Linked DNA regions of Homo sapiens: regions 1 and 3 are each linked to region 2. The links are contacts of gene promoters, found by promoter capture Hi-C in blood cells and fetal thymus (Javierre and others, 2016). All regions are on one chromosome and are shown on one strand. Each heading gives the region's core, a stretch centred on a gene start or on the middle of the fragment in contact. The rest is flanking DNA. Distances are from core to core; before and after follow the strand shown. Region 1 overlaps DHRS9 (dehydrogenase/reductase 9). Region 2 holds the start of CERS6 (ceramide synthase 6). Region 3 overlaps DHRS9 (dehydrogenase/reductase 9).

What was found. The method cuts DNA at HindIII sites, captures the fragments that hold promoters and counts their contacts. A CHiCAGO score of 5 or more calls a contact.
Region 1: a fragment that was not itself captured here is called in contact with the fragment with the promoter of CERS6 in region 2 in 1 of 17 cell types (monocytes); the score reaches 7.2 in monocytes.
Region 3: a fragment that was not itself captured here is called in contact with the fragment with the promoter of CERS6 in region 2 in 1 of 17 cell types (M1 macrophages); the score reaches 5.3 in M1 macrophages.

Annotation. Positions count from the first base shown.
Region 1 is chr2:169,071,163-169,075,525 of GRCh38, reverse strand. The region is part of intron 1 of DHRS9 (dehydrogenase/reductase 9); the gene reads right to left. Among named protein-coding and RNA genes, the nearest start is that of DHRS9, 3.8 kb to the right of the region's middle. The HindIII fragment of the contact is 4,011 bases long and covers 329-4,339 here.
Region 2 is chr2:168,454,188-168,458,861 of GRCh38, reverse strand. CERS6 (ceramide synthase 6) reads right to left here and starts at 2,590. Exons shown (of 10, transcript NM_203463.3): 1 at 2,244-2,590. The coding sequence starts at 2,413. It overlaps LOC102724081 (a long non-coding RNA gene), which reads left to right. Exons shown (of 4, transcript XR_002959433.2): 1 at 1-1,831. RefSeq lists silencers at 1,899-1,958, 2,409-2,538, 2,659-2,748, 2,779-2,998. The HindIII fragment of the contact is 1,842 bases long and covers 1,145-2,986 here.
Region 3 is chr2:169,089,566-169,093,838 of GRCh38, reverse strand. It overlaps DHRS9 (dehydrogenase/reductase 9), which reads right to left. Exons shown (of 5, transcript NM_001376924.1): 4 at 1,886-2,049. Among named protein-coding and RNA genes, the nearest start is that of DHRS9, 22 kb to the right of the region's middle. The HindIII fragment of the contact is 1,518 bases long and covers 2,038-3,555 here.

The sequences.
Region 1 (4,363 bases), core at 1,085-3,584, 620 kb before region 2:
TAATATTAATTTCCCAATTTTGATAATTATACTGTGATGATGTAGAACATGGCCTGCTTTTTAGGAAATACACACTGAAGTATTTAAAGAGTAAGGAGCATCATGTCTTCAACTTACTCTCAAACAGTTAAGAAAATAATAATGATATGTATATAAATAAACATTAAAACCACACATGCACCTATGTATATAGAGAGGAATGAGAAGGCAGATGTGGTAAAGTGTTAATATTTGAGGAATCTGGGTTGTCCTAGTCTCTAAATTTTTCAATAATTCTGAAATTATTTCAGAATAAAAAGTTAAAAATTTGGCAAAGGAAAGTAAAGCTTTTTTTTCTGTGAAAAGATTTTATTAGGCTACTTTGGATGTCATGCACAAAATAAGTAAGAACCCCAGACTTTTGGAGTGTAGTAACTTGTATACCACATTGCCTGTCATCTATGCTTTGGTAAGCTCACCTCTACAACTACCAAAGAAGAACGAAAGCTCAAATCTAAGTAGTTGGATTCCCTCTTTACTCCTTGTCCATTCTGCTTCCCCCTCAATCTCCACCTTTTCTATGCAAACCCATTTTTCCCTGGTGACAAGCAAAGAGGAAATTTTGCTGTTAAGAATGGACTCACATTAAAATGTATTGTCCTCATTAGGTACAGCTCTGGACTGAGGGTCATTTAGGCCTACAGTCTGAATCCTAGGGACTGCCAATGCTAACCTAGAGTTTTGCTACACTCTCCTTAACTCAAGTATTATTGCCCAGAAATGCTGGTTCAGATTCCTCTAGATCACTCGACTAAATCAACCACAAACACACACATATCTTTGACCTCTAGTAATATTTTAGCCACGATGCCAACTCTGAGCAGCAACCTGGGTCAGAGCCATGGGAACATGACCTATACACAAAGCTGATTGATGGCCAATTGGTTCATTGACCACTGAGAAATAAATTAGTAACAGCAACTAAAAGGCTAATAGGGCTACCTCAACCACACTACGCCAGCTGTGGTTACCTCTGCACGGCCCCTTGGTCCCAACAATTCAGAAACTCCAGGAACTGACCTGGTTGCTTGAGTTGTTTGCTTATCTGCTGTGTCTTCCAATTTATCGCACAACAAATTGCTTAATAGGGCGTAAATCTCTTGGCTCGAGGCAGTAGAGCAGTAGTTAGGAGCCCAGACCTCAGAAGCAAGCAGGCAGAGGTTCCATCCCAGTTTCACTATCATCAGAGGGCCCTCGGACAAATTAACTTTTCTTAGCCTCCATTTTCCTACCTGTAAAGTAGAAATACAACATCTACCTTGGAGAGTACTGGGTGAAGTGACCTAATGTCTGCCGTTACAGTAAGAACTTTGTTATCTTCATGGCAGGGTGAATCACTTTCACTTTATGAGGCAGTCTGCTCTATGTATTGCTCATATTTAGGCATTGATTCCTCTAACTGAGTAATTTTGATATTTTGGGCCAGGTAATTATTTGTTGTGGGGTCAGTCCTGTGCATTTAGCATGTTTAGTGGCATCTCTGGCCTCTACTCTCTAGTCAGCAGTAGCACCCCTCCCCAAGTTGTGAAAACCAAAAATGTCTCCAGATAATGCCAAATGTCCCCTGGAGGACAAAATATCCCCCAGTTTAGAACCACTGTTCTAGAACTTCCTAGTGTTGGGAGTCCAGAATATCATAGCACTAGAACTACTTTTCTGGAAACTTAGTCATTGGTTCCTTGGTAGTATCACATTGATGAGTTTCTTTTTTTAATGGCCTCATGGAAAAGTTGGGTTACTTATAAAAATTACTCATATCCTGCTGCTGCAAGCATTAATTTCCCTCTATATAAATATTTTAAAATGTCTTTTTGTCATCAGGAGGATAAGAGGCTGATATGGTTTGGCTCTGTGTCCTCACCCAAATCTCTTCATCCAATCACCTCCCATCTGTTCCCTCCCTCAAGGTTTACCCCATGCTGTTGACCCCCAGCTCCTCTGGGGGTACCCTTTGGTGGGTGGCCAACTGACCCTACAGAATTCAAAATATCCTCCTAGCAAATCTATGATTCTCAAGTTCCTGGTTGACCAAGTCAGGGAGGAATGATAATAACTGCTATGGTTCATTGAGTGCCTAACATGTTGTAGGCCGTTTCCTAGGATCTATAAATATTTATCTTATTTACACCTTACGACAAAATTATCTTCACTGTATAGAGGAGGAAACACATTCAGAAGCTCTGTTTAATTGGCTCCAGCTACAGTTGTAGTGGCAATTCCGGGACTGATACCCAGACCATTCTGTTCTACCACTGCAGTCTGTATTCCCACTCAACTCTGGGCTCTGCATATACTTCTCTACATTACCAGTTCCTTGTATGATACTTGGCATTATGTTGATGTTTAGTAAATGTTGTACAGCAAAGAAGGAAAAAAGGAAGGAAAGAAGGAAGTCTCCACTGTAGCTCCAGAGTTCTAGTGATAATTGGATTAATCTTTGAGACCTCTGAATCGCTGGGGCAAAAGGATGATAGCAATTATAATAATACATAATATTCACACTTCCAATTTTGATAACATTACAAAGTTTTGGGAAGTGTTTATGTAATATTTATCTCATGTAATTGTCAAGATATTTCTGGTGTAGAGTAGAGGTCATAACTATGGTCACTTGCCAGAGAGTGACCAGAACTAAAACTCTCTGAACTCTAAACTGTGTGAAAGAGAAGGAAGAACTGCAAAGAGATGAACACATTATCAGTCGACAGCAGGCACAAGAACACTTTATCAAACTTTCTCTACCATATCACAAAGATTCAAAAGAAACCAAGAAAGGAGAACTAGTTTTGTCTTTCATACACCATGCACAATGCTTTATAGTAACTGCCTGTCAGCAGCCAAAGGAAAATATTGCAACTCGAGCGCTCTCCTTGATCACTTCTGCTTTTCTTTTTCTTCCTGAGTTTGTTTTCCTAGTAAAAAAGTTAAAATAGGATTATTTAATTTCACTTCTCTTATTCACCTTCCTCTGTTTCTTAAAAATAAATGACACAGTTTAAAAAAAAGAACAGAAAATATCTCAATATTATTGTGAGGTATACTTTTTATAAGCAATGTAGAGTTCTTTCTAGATAGTTCCTCCCAGACCAGTTGATTTTATTTCCACATAACTTCATGAAGTGTTTCCTTTTAGAAAGCGATACCAAAGCTAGTCAACCACACTGTCAGGAGTTTGTAGAATCTTTATTTACTTCCAATGTGTTGCAATTGTGGCCCAAGTTGAATCAACAACTATGTTGTTTACCAAAATACATCAAATAGAAAACATTGAGCAATGATTTTCTAAAGTATTCTCTTTTTGGAGTTCTCTTGCATGGCTTTCTGAATACTGAAAGCCACTGAACATGTATGCCTCTTGTATATTTGAATATTGTAAACCCGGTTGACTTAACACAACATTCCTTTTTCATTTTTTCCTTTTCATTGAAGTAAAAAAAAACTGGTTTTTGTTTTGTTTTGTTTAAAAAAAAAAAAAAAACCCAGGTGGCTTTTAGAGATTTCTTCCACACTTAAAAAAAAATGAACACTGGAACCTATTGACATAAACTAAAAAATTATGTTTCTGTGAGAAATGTGTTCAAATGGTCCACCCAGAAATCTGAAAAAAAAATTTTTTAATGGCACCAAGGGACCCTACATTAAATGTGCTTGCATTAAGCAACGAATGCTTTTTTGAGAGTCTGACTGAAATAACAATTATAATAATTATTATGCTGCTGATGATATAGTTGAGTTGGTATTTATCGTCGTGGGAGGGTAAGTTCCCTTACTCAATGGATGAAGAAGCTCCTCCTCTGGTTAGTTACATTTGCCCTTGATTCCTGCTTCCCTGAGGGCAGGAGGTAATCCTTGGCAGCCAGACTGTGCTTTGGGTACTGGGACAGCGAGGCATGGAGTTCGTGTGTACTTCCACTACAGATTCACTCAGACAGCCTCCTCAGGATGTAGCTTCCCTCCCTCCTAGCAGAGGTGTACCAACTGCCTCAAATAGGGAAGATCTGCTGGATTTACATTTTGCATTTTTAGTTCTAAGGATAAAAGCATCTCTGATTTTCTTTTGCCTTCCTTCAAAACGTTTAAATTATAATTCACCATCACATCCCTAACTATTCATTAATTATCCCAAGTCCCTCCTAGGTTTATTATTTTGACAATGTTTCCTGACAGTATTAGCAGGTTACAAATTATTGTTAAAGCTATGATTACTTTATTTATGGTCACTGCATAACAATTGCTATCTGGGAAAGATTATATGTTGTGTACAGTTATCATTTGTAGTCACAAGGCTTTAAGGAAAGCTTAGAACATAGAACATATGTATAGG
Region 2 (4,674 bases), core at 1,341-3,840:
ACTTCTAACTCTAGATACAACTAAATTGTGGATTTTCAGAGAATTGAGAAGGTCTGAATGGTTAAAGACAGAGCTATCATAGGAAGAAACAAAGTAGATAGTCTTCCAAAAGTCAGTAGCATTCTGTGACATATGTGCCATATTGGATTATTATTCTGAACATTAACCATAAACTTTCACTTTCCATACAGGCCATTAAATCTCTTCTACTTAGATCAATGGCCTGAAGGAAACTGACCAACTCACTTTATATCAATATGAGGACATTTGCTGTGACTGACAATTGAAAGCAGCTCACCCCTCTATGTAAACTCTAAGTCGAGTCATGGGATTATGGAAAAAAAGAAAGAAAATAAAAAATGTTTAGAAAGAGGAAAAATGAACTTCCAGTTTTCAACTATCACATTAGTGTTTATCTTTTTAGAGGCAGAGACAATCTAAGTACAAAGCCATCTCCATTCTAACAACTTAATTTTTTTAAACACAGTGAACAGCCTGGAATCAGCATAGAGAAGGAGGATGTCAGGAAAATTCGGCTGTTTGTGCACAGATCATGCTTTTGTTCTCCAACACATAAGACTGCACATCTCTTTCAAATGCATTATCTATCTAAAAGTGAGCCCAGCCAGAATTTATCAGACACAATTTATCATAATTCAGCAATTGTGTGTAGATCCCCTACTATGTGCCAACATAGAGCAAACCTGCTATCCCTGAGTCTGCTTGTTTTTGGAGAGCCTGCAAAACTGTATAGAGTTCATATTTTCTGTAACCAAACATTTGCTCTAGAGGTAACTCTACACCTGCAAACACACCCATTTTTTCACAGCACTGCTGTGACTTTTTTGATCCTTTTTTGTATAGGATCAATGACACATCTGTATTAGATTCCAATAATTTAAACATAGGTCTTAAAGTCTGTTGCTTTGTGCATGTCAATTTCTGCAGGCGAACAGCTGACTTCGTTTTCAAGCAACAATACTGTCCGGTGAAAAATATACCTTCCTGAGACAAAAGATACTTTTTGTCCCCATGAAGCTTTGTTGCCTCGTCCAGCAGCAAATGACTCAAAAGACGCGTTCTGCCACCCTCAACAGTCGTTTTCAGGCAAAGAGGAACAGCAAATGAGGTACCAGCAAAAGCTTAAGAAACAAAACCAAGGTGAGTTGAAGGCGGGGAAGAAAGGCGGAGTGGAAGCGAGAAATGCAATCTAAACTCTACTTTGTGATCTAAGAAATTCAGCCTTTACTGATGAATTGGGCAGAGGAAGGGGAGGGTACAAGAAAGGGGAAGATAATATTTTCTGTTACGAAAAAAAAAGTGTGCTGCTGTCCTGGTTTTCTTTCAGTAGCACCCAGAGAATGCATGGCAGGCACAATCTAGTTTCGCGACGAAAACGAATTCCATGAGAATAACACAAGTTTGTATGTGACACAATGGAGATATCCAACCAAACCGAGGAACTATACAATTGCATGACAATTCCTCAAAATTTTAAGTGCCTTCGAGTACCAAAAAAGAAGTTTATGATTATTCACAGGACAGGGTTATCAGTTTAATATCACCATTTTGCAGGATGTGGACCCGTCCTGTCACATCCTCTTTTAAAGAAACCGCTAATAACCTGAAATGCTATTATCCCCTATTTGCCAGGACTGTGGGCCTGATAGTTTCACGGATAAAAACCAAACAGCGACCAGAAGCCAGGAAGTCCCTGGCGAATTCTTTTGAAGCACAACCCCTACAATCCGTGTGCCGGAGCATAAAGATTGAAGTGTGCGCGGTTCCTCCTCCCTCCGGGCCGCGCGTCCGGAACGTTCCTGGCTGTCAGGTGGGTGGCGCGGGCCCCGGCGGGAAGCCCTGCCTGGCAGCCTTGCGTGGCGCGCCGGCGGAGAGGGGCGAGCCCCGCGGAATGCGGCGGGTCCTGAGCCCGACCACCGCTCACCTTTGTTCGCCTGCCCTTGCCGGGAGGAGAGCAGGGCCCAGGAGGAGGGCAGGGGGCGACCCTAACGCTCCGCGGCTCCTCCCCGGCGCCCGGGAGGAAATCCGTGGCAAGCCAGACCCTTTCTGGCTCCCAGAAAGCCAGCGGGGCAGGGGGGTCAGCAACCCCTCCCCGAACACAAAGGTTGGGAGGCGTGAACGCGAGCGTTGGGGGCGCGGGGGCGTGCGCCAGAGAGCGCGCGAGTGTGTGCGCGCGTGTGTGTGCGCAGGGGGAGGGGAGGAGGGGCTTCAGCCCTTCTTACCTCTCGAAGATGAGCCGCACCATGAAGATACAGAAGGCCAGGGGAAAAGCGAGATAGAGGTCCTCAGCCTGCGGGAAGGTGGCCTCCTCCGTGTTCTTCAGGTCCGCCCAGGTGACATTGTGCGGGAGCCAAAACCTCTCGTTCCAGAACCAGGCTAAGATCCCTGCCATCTTGCTTTGTCCACTCCTGTCCTGCGGCACCCGCAGCCCGCCAAGCTCTCCACCGCGCAGGGCGCCCGGGGATGCGCGCCCGGCTGGCCCCGAGCCTGTGCCGCCGCCGCCGCTGCTCCCGCCCGCCGCCGCCGCCTCCTCCGCGGCCGCTGCTCTCGAAGGCTCGCGGCGAGCCCCGGTTCTCTCCTCCCTCTGGCCGCGCTGGGGAAAGGGGCCGCCTTGCCCGTCACATGGCAGCTCGGGCCGCCCGCCCTGATTGGCTCGTCTTCGCGTCAAACAGCGAGGCACACACGCGGCCAACTCGCCCACACCCGCAGGGCAGGGCGCAGTCGCTGCGCCCTGGGCGCAGGGGCACCGCTCCGGGGAGTGTCGCCCGCCCCTGCTCTCACCGCTCTTTCGCTTTGCGCTTAGGGCGACGACCTAAAGTCGACCCCCCAAATCCGCCCTAGCCCCCTGGCTGGCTCGCACATGCTCAGAATGCTGGCTCCTGCCCCGCTGGGGTTTCAGGGCTCTCAGTCCTCTTCCCGTGCGCCCGGAGGCGGTGGGTCAGCAGGTAGGGGCTGCCGCCAAGCTTCAGAACCAGCCCTGCTCCAGGAGGACAGCAAAAAAAAAAAAAGGGGGGGGGAGGGGGAGGGGTAAAGAGCAAAGGAGGAAGTGGGAGGGAAAGGATCCTCCACTCCCGCGCTTGGAGAGGCAGGGTGAAAAATCAGGAACTGAGGCAGGATGGTTTGGCAAGAGCCTTCTGCCTCTGCCCCACGCCTGCCTTTCCCCAATCTTTGACTTTCCGGTCTTTTATACTGCTGCTTCTCATCAAAGTAGCTCCCCCAGGGAACAAGCCCCCCTATATTGATTTATGAGGTGGTACAAAAAATTAGGCACTTAATTGCTATTTGATTATTAATTGCTACTTGATGACGATGATGATGATGATGATGATGATGATAGCAACTGCAGCGTTCTGTAAAACCACCCCTCTCAACTAACCTCTCTGAAAAGGCTGCTAGACCACATTTTGACCTGGCACATCATGAGAACCTCCACTGTGCTACTCGGCAGGCTCATTATTTCTGCCTTTTGAATCTAAAACCTTTAAGGCATTAGGCCTGTGAGGCCTAACCCAGGCACCTTCCCTCCCGCAATGCATTTCCCCATTGATACAGGAGCCATGTGTGAATTCATTCCATGGCCCATGTATACATGGTTCTGGGGCATTTTTGTTCATTTTTCTCACATTCATTTTCTGCCTGGTGCTGCCAGTAGGCTATACTAAACCTTTCCAGTGGGCATATAACCGCACACACACACACACACACACACACAGAGAGAGGGAGTTTCTTTTACTCTTCCCTCCCCTCTTTCCACTCTATCTCTTGAAAGTGAAACTGAAGAATGGCCTATACTGGTGCTTCCAATTTCTCTCCCCTCATTTTCTTTTGAACTTCCATTTGGACATTTGTCTCCTCTGCTGCATTGAAACTGCCCAAGGTCACCTGTGATCTTCATGCTGCTAAACACAAAGGTCAGTTCTTATCTTAGTCCAGGCTGCTTAGACTAGGTGGCTTAAACAGCAGAATTTATTCCTCACGGTTCTGGAGGCAGGGAAGTCCAAGATCAACATGCAGGCAGATCCAGTGTCTGGCAAGGATCCTCTTCCTGGTTTGAAAACAGCTGTTTTCTTGTGTATCCTCACATGGCAGAGAGCACAGAAAGAGGAAACACAGATTAGTGCCCTATCTTCTTATAAGGGCACTAATCCCATTCATGAAGGTTCTACCCTCATTAGCTAATTACCTCCCAAAGACTCTGTCTCTGAATACTATCACATTGGGAACTAGGATTTCAGCATATGAATTTTGGGGGACACACACATTCAGTTCATAGCAGTTCACAACACCTCTGTCAGTAGCATTTGGCCCAGTTGTCAGGTCGTGTGTCTTAAAACATTCTTGACTTGGCTTCCAGAAACCTCACTCTTCTGGGTTTCTTCCTCCTTCATGGCCATTTCTTCTCAGTCTCCTTCCTGGTTACTCCTCACTTTTCTAACCCCTAGAAGTTATAGTGGCCTAGGAGTCAGTCTTTTTTCCTCTTCACTTTTCTATCTGAATGTATTCATTTGGTGATTTTATCCAGTCTCGTGGCTTTTAATGACATCTGTATGCCCTCCAATGTCATGCTAATAGCTCCCATATTTATATCTCTAGCCATGAACTTTTTCCTGACCTTCTGACTCTTAAATCCACTGGCAATTTAACACCACCACT
Region 3 (4,273 bases), core at 1,547-4,046, 630 kb before region 2:
ATTTTAAACTCCTACTATCCCAGCTTGGGAAATTAAGAAAAGATGACCTTCAATTTGTGGTCTACTTTGGGACCGTGACTTTGGCTGATCTCCAAGTCCTGACTTGAAAACTCTAGTGAGAACAACCAGTGTAAAACTGAGCTCAATGCCTTTTGGTATTTCTGAGACAGAACACATGAACCAGGAACCAAGCCAAAAATAATTGGAGATGGAAGTCAGTGATATATTCAAAGGCATTTAAAAAGTATCGGTATCAATATCAAACAGAGAAAGCTCTTTTAAATGAGGGGTTTTGTTTCTGAAGTATTAAGTTCCATCTTAGATGGAACCTACATAGAACCTTCAGAGTCAGGAACTGAAAAGTAGAGTATTTGATGGCAGTGGCTCTAAACCTATAGTGGCATGTCAGCACTAAGATGTTTGTAAGACCAGACATTTCAGTTGATATATAGATAATGTGTGTACCTCTGTGTGTGTGCATGTGTGTGTGTGTGCGTGTGTGTGTGTTTAGGGTAATGGTGGTTGGAGGAGTCAGTCATTTTAAAAACCTCTCCAGGTGGGTCTGACTTGGCTTTCAGCTCTGCCTTGAAAACTCCTGACCATGAACCTTGCCACAGTTGACAGTCTTACCAAGTCCACTGATTAAGAGGCCTGAGCACAGTTTGGAGGGAAAGAACTACCCATAGTTAGGTGGAACCCTGCTCAACTCAAAGCAGGAGGTCAGTGAGTACTTGAGGAATATCAAGTAAACTTTAACCGACCCAAGAAGTTTGTGGCGGAGGGGAAAGCCTGATAACAGGAGTGTAACCAAAGTCCTTAATGCCTTGTTCACATTATAGTGCCATGGCCAAGCATAAATGGCACGGTCAGGCTGCCTGGGTCCAAATCTAGCTCTTCCACTTACTGGTGGTACAATTTTGGTAAGTTATTCTCTATGCCTCTATTTCTATAAAATGAAGACGATAATAAGAGTTTTTTGGGGGATTTTAAATGAGTGTCCCTGTAAAGCACTTAGAATGGTGACAAGTACATAGTAAATATTTACTATTTGTTAGTTGTCATTATGTCATCTTTATTATTATTCTCCCATCTCTGACTCAATCTCTTGACCAGGAAGGCTCCTGGTGTCTTCCATCTTCTCCTCCATGTGTTCCTGCTCCAGAAAGTTTCCACCCAAGTAATTATTTCCTGTCCTTTCCTCTTATTCAAACCTGACCTGCCCCATTAGGGCTTAACCAGCCATGCTCTTTTCCTGGTCTAAATTCCCTGGGGAATTAGAAACCACACCATCTAGCACCATTTCTGGGCTGTTAGATTACACCTAAGAAGTAAAGGATTAATTTTATTGTGTGCTACATTATTTCATTGTTTTACATTCTCGCTTGGTTACTTCTTGTTGTCAACTAGGTTGTAAACTAAAGGTCAGAGGCTGAACCTTTTCCATCTTTTGTAACCACCATAAATCCTTAATGCCAAGTGTACAGCTGGTGCTTGAGGAAAAGAGGAGGTATGGCAAAGGTGAAGACCGTGGCTCGACTTGCCTTCCTGGGCTCAGGTCCAGGCATGACTAGGAGGTGTTGTGTAATCTTGAGCAGGACATTTCACTTTCTCAAGCCTCTGCTCATTACTCTAATAGTTTTTGAGGAGTAAATAATATAATTCATAAGACACTTAGCAGATAACTTGGCAGTTTGTAATTGCTCAGTAAATGTTTATAAACAGAAGCAAGAGATGACACTGAAATTAATAGGAGATCCCTGATCCATGGTTAAGATCCTTATTGGGGTATTACTCAGAACCTTGTTATTTCATCTGTATTTGAATCTCCTTCATGCTGTTCAGGACAAAGAATTCTAGAGGACATTGGCACCGCCCGGAAACTCACTTTTTTCAATGTAACCTTCTCCATATTGTTGTTTGATGTCTGGAGACAGCTGCTCCCAAATGGCGAGTTTTTTTTCAATTACCTTTACTGGATCTGCCAAGTTTGTTTTGAACAATCCTGGTTCAATGCATGAGACGTGCACACCAAAAGCTTTCATGTCCCGTCTGTGAAAAGAACCCATTGAAGATGTTTAATCCGGGTTTGTTTAGAAAATATTTGCTATTTGAGTGACTATTTTCTCACGAATCTTTTCATGGAATCACAGATTTGGGTGCATTTGAAAGAAATATCTTATTCTCTCTCCCTTTCATTTTGCAAGTGAGGAAACTGAGGTTCAGAGTGGTGAAGTGAGGACTAGTTAACGGCAGGACAGGAAAGGGATCTGGGTGGACACCACCCCCAGTCCACTGTTGTTCTTCCTAGAGTGTTCTCCACGCTCTCATCATTGACTAAGTGGACATTCAGGTTATGAACAGGTTTCTTATCAGTACTTAAACCACCTTATGGTGAAATGAACTAATGATAGCCTGGATGGACAAGTTCACCTCCATTCTAGCAACATAAGGAGATTGCAGCACAAATGAGGATGTGCTGAAGGACACAATACGATAATCCCTGATGTGACTAACCTGCTCCCTATGCTGTTGAGCAAGTTTTATTTTATTTTATTTTATTTTATTTTATTTTATTTTATTTTATTTTATTTTATTTTATTTTATTTTATTTTATATCATGCTGCAGCAGAAAACTAAAAGCCTACTCATTCCCTAGGCATCAAGGTTTTACAGGAATCATGGTGCCCCTTTCTTTAAAGCAAACCAATATACAGATGTTCCTGTGGGGTCACATCCTGATAAACTCATTGTAAGTTGAAAATATCCTATGTCAAAAAATGCATCTAATATACCTAACCTGTCAAACATCATGGCTTAGCCTAGCCTACATTAAACGTCCTCAGGACACTTACATTGGCCCACAATGGGGCAAAATCATCTGGCCACACAGTGCCCTGCAGCATAGCAGTTCTTTGCCCTGTGATTGCAACGGCTGACGGGGAGCTGGGGTTTACTGCCACTGCACAGCATCGCGAGAGAGTATTGTACATATTGCTGCTGGTAAAAGATCAAAATTCCAAATTCTAAGAAAAGTTTGTAATGCATGCATCTCACTTTCACACCATTGTAAAGTTGAAAAGTCATGTTTAACATTGCAAGTCAGGGACCACCTGTACAGCAAACCAGTATATGAATAGTCGTTTCCTAAATTTGATTTATTTTCCTACCAGGAATATATAATATAAGGAAGTATTTATTCATTTTATAAAACTCTTCACCATAAGATTTTTAAAAGCTCTATTAGTGGACTTAAAATGTAATTTATTTTTTCTTAGGTTCTGCTTTCTAGCAACGTTATTATTGTAAAGTTTGAAATATATTTTACTAAAAATGCAAGTTAGCTTGACCTTGAAATATTCTGTAAGGTATATGACTTGTACTAAAATTAAAAAAGATTATTTCCCAACTTACTTTTGTTTTATTCACCTGTTGCCCAATTTCCTCTAGATTGTGGAAGTAGCAGTGCCAAGAGGCTATTTAGGAAGACTTTTCTCCCCACCCACTCATAAAAATAACGTACTAGGGACAAGTGGCCTTACGCCCTCCAACTAAGCTTACCAGGTAAGTAAAAACCATATTAAATCAGTATGCATGCTGGGAAAATACAGTTTTAAGGAGCCCCAACCCTCTCTCAAATGGACTGCTGCCCCTAAACCCTCCTATATATAGAAATTGTGACGCTGACACTGGATTGTGGCGCACCTACATAACACCATTTAAAATACTAGTTCCATGATTCATTTAAGAAAAATACTCTTTATTGATTACTATTAGGCATGGCATACCTGCATGGCAAAGCTCACAAACCCTTCAGTTGAAATCTTTTTTAAAAGTGAGTAAATCTCTAATTACATATACTACAATTTTATTATGATACTGCTGGTTGTAGAGTGGAAACAAAGGTCAACCAAAGAGACCAATGGAGGTTTTTTTATGACCTTGCTACTCAAAGTGTGATCCCTGAACCATGGGCAGCACCTGGAGCTTGTTAGAAATGCAGGGTCTCAGGCTCCTCTCCAGATCCACTTAATCAAAATCTGCATTTTGAAAAGATCCCCAGGTGATTCAAATGCACATTAGTTTTTTGGAAGAATTGTTCCAATATTTTTGTGCTTATTTCCTAGGAGAATCAAACTTGGCAACCTGATCAAATGGCAAAATGAAGTTGCTCTATCTTTATTAATTTCAGTGGAGTAATTTTAACCTTTTATTAGTAAACTAAACCTAGGTCCATGGTATAAATCATAAACTCTAACATATGCCTTCAACAAAT